Regions from separate parts of the Homo sapiens genome. Here all the other regions are linked to region 3. Evidence: promoter capture Hi-C in 16 types of primary human blood cells and fetal thymus (Javierre and others, 2016). All regions are on one chromosome and are shown on one strand. Each heading gives the region's core, a stretch centred on a gene start or on the middle of the fragment in contact. The rest is flanking DNA. Distances are from core to core; before and after follow the strand shown.

Region 1 (3,129 bases), core at 630-3,129, 390 kb after region 3:
GGGGGTCATCTTGAGCAGTCCTCTGCTTTTGTTCCTTCACTCCAGATCTGCTGTGACCTCCTCTTCTCCCCTTACAGACATCAGAGCGGAAAGATGCAAGTTCTCTGTAGCCTGTCTCAACAGGCTGTGCCCTCCCTGCCCTGGGAGGAAGGCCTCTTGCCTCTAACTCCAGCGTCGTCATTGGTCCTCCCTCAGTGCTCCCCATTCAAATCACAGCACCAGCACACCCTCAGCTGATCAGGCCAGGAACCTGGAGCCATCCACAACTCCTCTCTTTCTCCCACCACTGGGAGAAAGAGAGAGGGTGGGAGTTCAATACCAGCCTGGCCAACATGGTGAAACCCTGTTTCTACTAAAAATACAAAAAAATTAGCCAGGTGTGGTGGTGTGCACCTGTAATCCCAACTACTCGGGAGGCTGTGCATAAGAATCGCTTGAACCCGGGAGGTGGAGGTTGCAGTGAGCTGAGATCGTGCCATTGCACTCCAGCCTGGGTATAGAGTGAGACTGTTCTCGAAAAAAAAAAAAAAAAAAAAAATTGAGTCAGTGGACTGGGAAAAGCAGACCCACCCTCAATCTGGGTGGGTGCAATCTAATCAGCTACCAGCACAGCCAGAATAAAAGCAGGCAGAAGAATGTGGAAAGACTAGACTGGCTTGGTCTTCTGGCCTGCATCTTTCTCCCATGCTGGATGCTTCCTGCCCTCAAACATCAGACTCCAAGTTCTTCAGCTTTGGGACTCTTGGACCTTCAGCCACAGACTAAAGGCTGCACTGTCAGCTTCCCTGCTTTTGAGGTTTTGGGACTCAGACTGACCTCCTCGCTCTTCAGCTTGCAGATGACCTATTGCGGGACCTCACCTGTGATCATGTGAGTCAATATTCCTTTAAAAACTCCCCTTTACATATACATCTATCCTATTAGTTCTGTCCCACTAGAGAACTCCGACTAACACAGATTTTGGGACCCTCTGCTTAAAACCTTCCATTGGCTCCCCACTATCGCAAAACAATTCTCACCTCCTAGCCGCAGCCTGTAAGGCCTTTTGTAATCTGCCCGCCATTACCTCTCCATCCTCCTCTCTTAGCATTCTTCCCCTCACTTGCTCTGTTCCATCCATTCTAGCCTCCCTGCTGTTACGGGAACACACTAAGCTTGTTCCTGCTCCAGAATCTTTGTACTTGCTGTTCCCTTTGCCCAGAATGCTCTTCCCCGGGGTGTCAATGTAGGTGGTTTCCTCTCTCCATTCGCTGGCTTGCCTCAAATATCACCCCCTCACAGAAGCCATCTGTGACCACCCAATCTGAAATAGTTGGAAAAGCTCACGCCCTCCCCCATACCACTTTAGCTATTGTGTGCGGGGCACTTAGCACATCGCCACCTGAAATGTATATGCTTACTTCTCTTTTTTTTGTTGTTGAGACAGAGTCTTGCTTCGCCGCCCAGGCTGGAGTGCAGTGGTACAATCCTGGCTCACTGCAACATCCACCTCACGGTTTCAAGCAATTCTCCTGCCTCAGGGTTCTGATGATTACAGGCACCTGCCACCATGCCCAGCTAATTTTTGTATTTTTAGTAGATACGGGGTTTTGACACGATGGCCAGGCTGGTCTCCAGCTCCTGGCCTCAAGTGATCCTCCTGCCTTGGCCTCCCAAAGTGTATAAGTTTACTTCTTGATCTGTCTGTTCAGGAGACTGTCAGCTTCTTGAGAGTAGTGAATTTTGTCTCTATTGTTCCCCGGTATATCCCAGGCTGCGGTCAGTGCCTGGCACATAGTAGATGCTCAATAGATATTTATCGATTGGAGGAACACAGCCCCACTCAACCCCAGGTTCCTACCGGGATACTCACGTCTACCACGGGGGTCTGGTTCACACCTGAAGCTGGAAACTGGGGGCTAATGTGAGCTCCTGTAGACGAGCCCCTAGTCCCAGACACTGTCTCCGCCATTAGCAGCACACAAAGCACACTCAGTGCCCAGCGCAGATTCAGCCTTCTGCCGGCCATCTGCCCCCACGGGGCCTGGCCCTTACTCTCCACTTCCCTTTCTGCAGTAGCTCAGTTCCAAACAGCTGGCGGCTCCGGTGGCCTGCAAGGTGGGAGTGAGAAAGGGGGACAACATTACTGAAAACCCATGGACACAGCAAAAGGGGCTGGAAGACTCTAGTTAAGGAACTGCCTTCCTGCCTCCCGGCAGCAAAGTTAAGCTGACGGAGAAACCATGTTCTGCACAGTCTCGCTGGAGGGGCCCAAGGCCCTGCCCATTCAGCGTGCAGATCAGATACGCCCTTCTTCCTGAGAACCCATGAAAACCTACCCAGTCCCACCTGGCCCCCAGCCTGAGGCCAGAATGCCAGGGCTGCAAGGGACTTGGGACTTGAGCCAAGATTCAGAGTCTCAGGCTTCTGGGGCAGGTGGGTGAGATACATGTGGGAAGTGGGCAGTGGGCGGGATTGCAGAAGCCCTCAAAACAAAACAAAACAAACTCTACTTCTAGGGGTGGACTTGGCCTCTGGGCCACCAGTTTGAGACGTAGAGAGGCTTGCCCACCACATTTTACAGAGCCCACTAAGCAATGCTGTTGTTCTGTGTCTTACAAGGAGCCAAGCTTTACATGGATGACCTCATTCTATCCTCACGACATGCCGAGCGGGGGTAGCACTAGCATTCCATTTTACAGATGAACTAACTGAGGCACAGACAGGTGAAGCCAGGCTTGTTTCCCCCCTGCATCACGCCTCCCTCATGCAGTCCTCAGAACAATTCTGGAAATGTCACCCCCCCGCCCCCCACCCCACCCTGCACAGCAGGGAGAGGGGCTCAGAGGAGTGTTTTTTGTTTTTTGTTTGTTTCTTCAGATGGAGTCTCACTCTGTTACCCAAGCTGGAGTGCAGTGGCGCGATCTCAGCTCACTGCAACCTCTGCCTCCCGGGTTCAAGTGATTCTCCTGCCTCAGCCTCCCGAGTAGCTGGGATTACAGGCACACACCACCATGCCCAGCTAATTTTTGTATTTTTAACGGAGACGGGGTTTCGCCATGTTGGCCAGGCTGGTCTGGAACTCCTAGCCTCAAGTGATCTGCCGGCCTTGACCTCTCAAAGTGCTGGGACTACAGGCGTGAGCCACCA
Region 2 (3,175 bases), core at 309-2,808, 480 kb before region 3:
TTTAAGTCCTGCATGCATTAGGTGTTTGTCCTAATGCTCTCCCTCCCCTTTAATGCATCAGTGAAAAAGTGATGATAGGCTGGGCGTGGTGGCTCACTCCTGTAATCTCAGCACTTTGAGAGGGTGAGGCAGGTGGACCACTTGAATCCAGGAGTTTGCCCCCATCCCCAGACAGTGTGTGTGATGTTCCCCTCCCTGTGTCCATGTGTTCTCATTGTTTGGTTTTCTGTTCCTGTGTTAGTTTGCTGAGAATGATGGTTTCCAGCTTCATCCATGACCCTGCAAAGGACATGAACTCATTCTTTTTTTATGGCTGCATAGTATTCCATGGTGTGTATGTGCCACATTTTCTTTATCCGGTCTATCATTGATGGGCATTTGGGTTGGTTCCAAGTCTTTGCTATTGTAAATAGTGCTGCAATAAACATATGTGTGCATATGTCTTTATAGTAGAATGTTTTATAATCCTTTGGGTATATACCCAGTAATGGGATTGCTGGGTCAAATGGTATTTCTGGTTCTAGATCCTTGAGGAGTCACCACACTGTCTTCCACAATGGTTCAACTAATTTACACTCCCACCAACAGTGTAAAAGCATTCCTATTTCTCCACATCTTCTCCAGCATCTGTTGTTTCCTGACTTTAAGTGAACTGATCTCTTTCCTGAAACTAACTTGGGTTGGAGAATGTCCCTGATGGGAATGTGCTGTGTTCCCATTGCACTCTTCTATATCACTTACCCATTGACAATGTGATCTCTTTCATTTTCTCCTCATCCATTTGACAGAAAACTTCAAAAACAAGGATTCTGGCATATTTACCTTTGCAGTTGTCCCCAGCATGTAGCACGGTGCCTAGTACACAGAAGAAACTCCATAAATGTTTGTTGAATGAGATTTACATTTAACTCATGTTTACATCATTTTATTTTCCTGTTCTGTTTTATGGGAATGATTATTCTATGCTTTTTGAGGACTACAATTTATAAATATTTGTGGATTGAATGAATAAGTGAATACTGGGCAAATAAAGTCCTTTTAGCCAGAGTATGTCTGAACAACTTGCTGAGATAGATATGATTTCCCATTTTCCAGCTGAGGGGCCTAAGGGAGGTTAAGTAAATTATTCAATCTTCATACCACAGTTTTTGTTTTGTTTTGTTTTGTTTTTTTTCCTCCTGAGACAGAGTCTCACTTTGCTGCCATACTGGAGTACAGTGGTGCAATCATAGCTCACTGCAGCGTCCAACTTCTGGGCTCACGCCATCCTCCCACCTCAGCCTCCTGAGTAGCTGGTACTACAGGTGTGCACCACCATAGCCGGCTAATTTTTCATTTTTTGTAGATATGGGGTCTCACTGTGTTACTCAGGTTGGTCTTGAACTTCTGAGCTCAAACAATTCTCCTGTCTTGGCCTCTCAAAGTGTTGGGATTACAGGTGTGAGCCACTGTGCCCGGCCCATACCACAGATATTGATTGAATTCCAGCAGTGGGGAGGAGTGTGGAATAGAACATTCTCAGTCCTTGCTCAACATTACTGAACAGAGACTTGAATTTGAGTTTATTCTCTCATCCCAGGCTTCGCGTTAGGCTCTGAAGACACTAGTGAACAAGACAGACAGGGTTACTGCCTTTAAAGGGAGCTTTTAGTTGAGAGAAGGAAAACAGTGATGAAAAGCATCAGTGAAAAAGTGATGATAGGCTGGGGCGTAGTGGCTACTCCTGTAATCTCAGCACTTTTAGAGGGTGAGGCAGGCAGCTCACTTGATTCCAGGAGTTTGAGACCAGGCTGGGCAACATGGTAAAACCCCGTCTCTACAAAAAATACAAAAAGTAGCTGGGTGTGGGGGTGCGCACCCACAGTCCCAGCTACTCTGGGGGTTGAGGTGGGAGGATTGCTCGAGCCTGGGAGATTGAGGCTGCAGTGAGCTGAGATCACGTCACTGCTCTCCAGCCTGAGCAACAGAGCCAGAACCTGTCCCAAAAAAAAAAAAAATTGATGATAAACATAGTGAGACAGAATTTTGAAATCTCAGCCTCACTGTTGCCTTCCTTGTCCCCTGCCTGCCTAAATAATAAAAGGCAGCATTTCAGCAGTCATTCATTTCATTACTTTCACTTCATTTCACCTTCATAAAGCCTCATGAGGTAAGATGGGAAGATACAGAAGTTTTAGAAACCGCTCATCAAAATTGAATGGAAAGCCGATTGTTCCAAAACTTTTTAGTGTGGAAAATTTCTATTATATGCAAAAGTAGAGAGAATGGGATAGTTATAGCAGTATACCTGACACCCAGCATTAACAACTGTTGATAATATGGCCAATCTTTTTCGACTCTGCCCCACTCACTTCCCCAGCCCTGACTTGTCTTGAAGCAAATACTTTTTTTTTTTTTTTGAGATAGAGTTTTGTTTTGTTTTGTTTTTTGTTTTTGAGATGGAGTCTCACTCTGTCCCCCAAGCTGGAGTGCTGTGGCTTGATCTTGGCTCACTACAACCTCCGCCTCCTGGGTTCAAGTGATTCTTGTGCCTCAGCCTCCTGAGTAACTGGGATTACAGGTGTGTACCACCATGCCCAGCTAATTTTTGTATTTTTAGTAGGGACAGGGTTTTCACTATGTTGGCCACGCTGGTCTCAAACTCCTGACCTCAGGTGATCCGCCTGACTTGGCCTCCGAAAGTGCTGGGATTGTAGGTGTGAGCCACTGCTCCCGGCCTTGAAGCAAATCTTAACACATCATTTCGTCTGTAACTATTTTATTTCAAAAAATTATAACCTGAATAGCATTATCATATCTAAAACTATTAACAGTATTTCCTTAATATTAACACATATCAGTCACATTTTCCTGATTGCTACACACACACACACACACACACACACACACACACTTGCAATTTGTGTTTTTTTCTTTTTAGATGGATCTCACTCTGTTGCCCAGGCTGGAGTGCAATGGTGCATTCTCAGCTCACTGCAACCTCCACCTCCTGGGCTCAACTGATTCTCTTGCCTCAGCCTCCTGAGTAGCTGGGACTACAGGTGCCCACCACCTCACCTGGCTAGTTTTTGTATTTTTAGTAGAGGTGGGGTTTCACCATGTTGGCCAGGTTGGTCTCAAACTTCCGACCTCAGGTGATCCACCCACCTTGGCCTCCCAAAGTGCTGGGATTACA
Region 3 (2,795 bases), core at 2-2,501:
GACCCAGCATCTCTCCCTCTAGTTGACCATGACCTCTGAAATTCACACTCTGATCCTATCTATTTCCTTTCAGTTACCGTGCAGATGTCAGGAAGCACTTGTTAAGACTATTACCTGAAGTGTACTCAGAGGCAGAGTAAATGCTGGGTCCCGGAGCAGACAGGAGAGAGGACCTGGGAGTTTTTTAGTAAGATGGGGAGGAGGAGATAGGCTATGGCTTGGACCAGGCCTGGAAGAGAGCTCAGGTGTGCAGTCTCTAGGAACCCGGGTGGAGAAGCAGCAGGAAATAAGCAGAAAAAGGAGACAGGCCATGAAGATAGAAGCGCAATGGTCCTGGATTCAAATCTCCACTCTGCAGCTTATAGCTTACAGTCCGCTTAGCTTTGTGCCCATTCCAAGAGGATTTCCCTATTGTAGCTTTACAATGTTTTAATATGTAGTATTGTTGTGCAAGGTACCATCCTAAACTGACTGACTTTCCTTCCTCCTTCTCCTCCAAAATAATTTTTAATTCTTGCAGACAGACTTTAGATCGTGTGTTTGAAGTTTTTAAAGATGGAATTTTTATTGGAACTGCATTACACGTATAAATTATTTAGGAAGAGTTGGCTTCTGAAGAGGGCAGCTCTGTGGGCTTGGGCTGGGTTTGAATCCAGCCAGACAACTTTCCAGCTGTGTTACCTTGGACAGTTACCTAGTTCCTCTGTACCTTGACTTCCTCATCTGTCAAATGGGTGATGATAATAGCACCTACACCATGGTCGTTGGGAGGAGTCAGTGAGAGTCTCCAAGTGTGCTTTATTATCGTTGGTGGTGGTAGTGGTGTTTAGAACGCATCCCTCAGTCAGACAGCGAGGTAGGACTTCTCCGTTTATTAAATCCTGACCTTTTTTTTCCATGTAAAACCTGCACGTTTCTGAAATGCTCAGAGTACGTTACTCAGTATGTACCCATATGTTCTGTGGGTATACTTTGTTAGGTTGTGATTAGTTCGTTGGAGCTGGTGGTTGCAGGGACGGCTGGAAGCAAGGAGATGAAGGAGAGGAAGTCGTAGCTGGGAAGGGGACCAGGAAGTGGGTGTCAGGTCCAAGAGCTGCTAGAAAGAAACGAAACTGAAAGCAGGGAATTTCCCAAGTTTGGGGAAGACAGGAACTGCAGCGCCCCTCCCCGTTTCACGCCACGCGCGGGACCGAGGACCTAGGACCTGGCCAGCTGGGCGTGGTTCGGAGAGCCGGGCGGGAAAACGAAACCAGAAATCCGAAGGCCGCGCCAGAGCCCTGCTTCCCCTTGCACCTGCGCCGGGCGGCCATGGACTTGTACAGCACCCCGGCCGCTGCGCTGGACAGGTTCGTGGCCAGAAGGCTGCAGCCGCGGAAGGAGTTCGTAGAGAAGGCGCGGCGCGCTCTGGGCGCCCTGGCCGCTGCCCTGAGGGAGCGCGGGGGCCGCCTCGGTGCTGCTGCCCCGCGGGTGCTGAAAACTGTCAAGGTGAGGTCCCACCTCGGGGTCTTTATGTGTCCAAAGGGGAGTCCTGGGAGGACGCTTAAGCCTCACATAGGCTTACGGTGGGGGTGGCTTTATCCGCTTGTGCACCTCATTCATTTCTTTAACAAATACTTCCAATGTGCCAGCCCCGTGCTAACTCCCCCGAACATACGAGCCAGGTAGGTACTCTTAAGCCCGCTTGACAGATAGAGAAAATGAGGCACAGAGAGGTACAGTGACGTGTCCGATCCTGTAAGAGGCCCAGCCAGGATTCAAATCCAAGTAGCCTGATTCCTGCATCTCTACTCTCAGAGGCTGCTTCTTATCCATTCATTCACTCATTCACTCATTCTCCCAGTCATTCAAACAGACTGTGGGCCTCACACTATGCCAGACCTTAAGGTTACAGAAGTAATAACACTCCGCGTAACAGCCAGAGTAGCCCAATTTATTGAGACATTATCAAATAACAATGAAAATTATCTCATTAAATGAGTATTACCTCATTTCATCCCCACGTTCAGTGAGGCAGGTATTATTGTACCTGTTTTATGGATAGGGAAACTGAGGCTAGACGCTAAATTACTACTCTGAGTCACATCTTTTTTTTTTTTTTTTTTTTTTTTTTTTTTTGAGACAGGGTCTCGCTCTGTCACCCAGGCTGGAGTGCAGTAGCATGATCTTGGCTCACAGCAACCTCCGCCTCCTGGGCTCAAGTTATTCTCACACCTCAGCCTCCCAAGTAGCTGGCACTACAGGTGCACACTACCATGCCTGGCTAATTATTTGCATTTTTTGTAGAGATAGAGTTTTGCCGTGTTGCCCAGGCTGGCCTGGAACTCCTGGGCTCAAGTGATCCACTTGCCTTGGCCTTTCAAAGTGCTGGGATTACAGGTGTGAGCCACCATGCCCAGGTAATTTTTGCATTTTTTGTAGAGACGGGATTTCACCATGTTGCCCAGGCTCCGGGTCACTTTTTGTCACTTAAATACAGCCACACTGCCACTGTGATCCCAGGACACTCGCAGATTCAGGGAGGAGACAAGTCATGAGCTACCTTATCCTCAGGGTAGATTTGGGGGTGCCAGGAGTGGATTGATGGAGGGAACCTGGGTGTGCTAGAGGAGGTTGTCAGGAGAGGGAGTGAAAACGCAGAGTAGAAATGGCCTCAGAGCACCTAGTGGTTTCCTGGGGCTGACTCTCAGCTTGGGAGGTGGGGAAGGAGGAGACACTTGTCGCCTAGGAGGTGTGAAGTCCCGTTTCTACCTTGGAGATGGACAGGAGGGATTTCTGTGCAGCAAGGGAAAGCCCTG
Region 4 (2,776 bases), core at 22-2,521, 300 kb after region 3:
TTTGGACCTGGTTGAGTTGGGCATGGGAGCTGCTAAATGTGTTTGGGCCAGAAAGCAAGTGATGACAGAGCATCTTCCTGCTGACATCTTGCCAGCTCGGGATGCTGTCTCTAGCCAACTTGATAAGCCCTGAGCTTAGAAACCCTGGGGTGGGTCAGCCCTGAATAGGGGTTACTTTTCCCTCTGGAGATTGAGAGGTGGATGGAGAGGAAACTGCCAGGCTATTCTGCAGTAGTAGGAGCCGGATTTGGCATTTTTCTCTCTGTGTCTGTCTCCCTGACCAGTCACTGAACTTCCCCAGGTCCCAGAAGCTCAGCTCAGTAGCTCAGTTCCTACTTCTTTTTTTTTTTTCTTGAGTTAGAGTCTTGCTCTGTTGCCCAGGCTGCAGTGCAGTGGCACAGTCTCGGCTCACTGCAACCTCCGCCTTCCGGGTTCAAGCAATTCTAGTGCCCCAGCCTCCCCAGTAGCTGGGATTACAGGTGTGCACCACCGCACCCTGTTAATTTTTTTGTATTTTTAGTAGAGACGGGGTTTCACCACATTGGCCAGGCTGGTCTCAAACTCCTGACCTCAAGTGATCTGCCCACCTCGGCCTCCCAAGGTGCTGGGATTACAGGCGTGAGCCACCATGCCTGGCCAGTCCCTACTTCTTAAGAGGCACTCAGGAAGCATCTGGACAATGCTGAACAGATGAGGACTTTCATAGGCTCACCTGGCCTGGGGTCTGGCCCAGGAGGGTGCTCTTTGATGAGAAACATCCCAGCGGTATTGGGCATGGAGGAAGCAGCTAGTGAAAGAAAAGCAGAGCTGATGGGAGGAAGATGTTTGACTGTGCCCAGCCCTGCCACATATCTCCCACTTTGCCCTCCCTAATCCCACCACACCCAGCTCTTAGGATCAGAAAGTACGTTGAAGTTCCAGGGCCACTCTCCTGAATAAAAAGTGTGGCTTCTGTTTCCGGCAGATAAGTTCCTGCTTTGTTCCAGTGCACTGACACAGTCCCCTGAACAACCCATCTTGGGTTGATCAGGAAGTTCTTAGTCTGTTCAGATGGCAGCCTACCTCTCATTTTATCATCCTCCTTCACGATAAAGCCCTGATGTTCTGCCTTTCCCACTTAGTGGAGAAACCTATCCTCATAGCCACACTTCCGGTATTGAGGAATTGGCATCTTGGAATACAGCTTGGGTATTTGGATGACAAATTATTAAAAATATTCTGATCTCTTTGCCCACATATTTTAGCTGTAGAAGCAAGCAGAGAGCATCATGTTACTGCAGCAGCAGTGCCGCTTATTTTTTTTCCTTAAAAAACATGATTTAGGGGTCCTAGTTTTGGTGGCTTCCTGCTTCAGCAGCATTTGGAAGACTTGCAGATATGTCCTGTGAGTGCCACGTGGGTGTGACCCCTGCTCCTTGGCCTGGCAACAATCCAGTAGCTGTATATTAGAGTGTCCTTTTTGCTACCTTAAATGACCAAGTCTTCCCCAGAGCCATTCTTGCTATCTCTTGCTATCCACCTGCCTCGGCCTCCCAAAGTGCTGAGATTACAGGCATGAGCCACCACTCCTGGCCCTTCCTGTTTATTTAGCTGAAGGCCTTGAGAGCCTTCCCTAACCTTTGAGGATAGTGGTTGTGTTTCCACAGTCTCTCATTCTCCAGGTATGCTGTTTATACCTCTTTCTCTGCTCTTCACGGCACAGAGACCCACTCGCTCCCCAGCACCGGGATGTGATCGATTTGATGATTGAATCAGAGTTTGCTTTGTGCCATGATGGATTGTGAGAAAATGGAGTTTTGATGAATTAGGTAATTTAAAATACGGGTGGGAGCCAGGCGCAGTGGTTCACCCTGTAATCTTAGCACTTTGGGAGACCAAGGCGAGAGGATCACTTGAGGCCAGGAATTTGAGACCAGCTTGGACAACATAGTGAGACCCCATTTCTAAAAAGAAGTTAAAAAAAGTTAGCCAGGTGTGGTGGTGCACACCTGTAGTCTCAGCTCCTTGAGAGGCTGAGGCATGAGGATTGCTTGAGCCCAGGAGTCTGAGACTGCAGTGAGCCATGATCACACTACTGCACTCGAGCCTGGGCATAGAGTAAGACCCTGTCTCTAGAAATACATATATACATATATATTTCAAAATAAAATATAGGTGGGAGGGCTAAGTTTGGCAAAGAATCCTTTCGTAGTATGAATAATACCCATTCTGTTCATCCAGCATCAAGCAGGGTTTTGTGAATCCTGCTCCCCCCAGCTAGGGCTTACCTGGTTTGTGAGTTTCTTTCTTGTGTCTCCCTGATGCCTGTTTGAGATGACTGGGCAGGGCAGGGCAGGAAGGTAGAGGCCTAACCCAGTGTAATGCCTGGGTGTTAATGGCTGTTGTTTTAGGTGCTGATGTTTTACACAGCTGTGCCTCTTTCTGGTAGTACAAGTTTTGCAAAGGCAGGGATCATGTCTCTTCTACACATATTCTGGGCACAATAATAGACATAATAGAAGTTGCATATCTGGGAGTGAGTCACCGGTTTCCAAAAACATCCAGGGTCCCAGGTGACTGTCACAGCTAAACCAGCCCCTGGAGCCACTGGAGGGTGACAAGGAGACTCATTCACATGTGATCAGACCAGAAGTAGCCCAGCAGGGCATGGCGTTGCTGCCCCTAGGAACAGCCTACTTTTTGGATGTTTGGGTCTCTGCTTCCAGCTTCGAACTCCCCAGGAGCCCACACATGTCCAATCCCAACCTTCCTTCCATCTAAGCTTCCCCGTCGCCGC

Evidence for each region. The method cuts DNA at HindIII sites, captures the fragments that hold promoters and counts their contacts. A CHiCAGO score of 5 or more calls a contact.
Region 1: a contact is called between a fragment that was not itself captured here and the fragment with the promoter of OAS3 in region 3, in 1 of 17 cell types (naive CD4 T cells). The highest score is 5.3, in naive CD4 T cells.
Region 2: a contact is called between a fragment that was not itself captured here and the fragment with the promoter of OAS3 in region 3, in 1 of 17 cell types (M1 macrophages). The highest score is 5.0, in M1 macrophages.
Region 4: a contact is called between a fragment that was not itself captured here and the fragment with the promoter of OAS3 in region 3, in 2 of 17 cell types (naive B cells and activated CD4 T cells). The highest score is 5.3, in naive B cells.

Annotation. Positions count from the first base shown.
Region 1 is chr12:113,330,871-113,333,999 of GRCh38, forward strand. SLC8B1 (solute carrier family 8 member B1) reads right to left here. Exons shown (of 16, transcript NM_001358345.2): 2 at 1,853-2,090. The coding sequence starts at 2,008. Among named protein-coding and RNA genes, the nearest start is that of SLC8B1, 2.7 kb to the right of the region's middle. The HindIII fragment of the contact is 1,455 bases long and covers 1,153-2,607 here.
Region 2 is chr12:112,457,050-112,460,224 of GRCh38, forward strand. All of the region lies in intron 6 of PTPN11 (protein tyrosine phosphatase non-receptor type 11), which reads left to right. LOC124903023 (a long non-coding RNA gene) reads right to left here. Exons shown (of 3, transcript XR_007063466.1): 3 at 701-855. Among named protein-coding and RNA genes, the nearest start is that of PTPN11, 40 kb to the left of the region's middle. The HindIII fragment of the contact is 3,793 bases long and covers 1-3,175 here.
Region 3 is chr12:112,937,223-112,940,017 of GRCh38, forward strand. It overlaps OAS3 (2'-5'-oligoadenylate synthetase 3), which reads left to right and starts at 1,252. Exons shown (of 16, transcript NM_006187.4): 1 at 1,252-1,485. The coding sequence starts at 1,309. RefSeq lists enhancers at 871-1,040, 935-1,244, 1,208-1,377, 1,801-1,970 and a silencer at 1,465-1,554. The HindIII fragment of the contact is 11,275 bases long and covers 1-2,795 here.
Region 4 is chr12:113,237,021-113,239,796 of GRCh38, forward strand. The region is part of intron 2 of TPCN1 (two pore segment channel 1); the gene reads left to right. Among named protein-coding and RNA genes, the nearest start is that of TPCN1, 17 kb to the left of the region's middle. The HindIII fragment of the contact is 2,975 bases long and covers 1-2,759 here.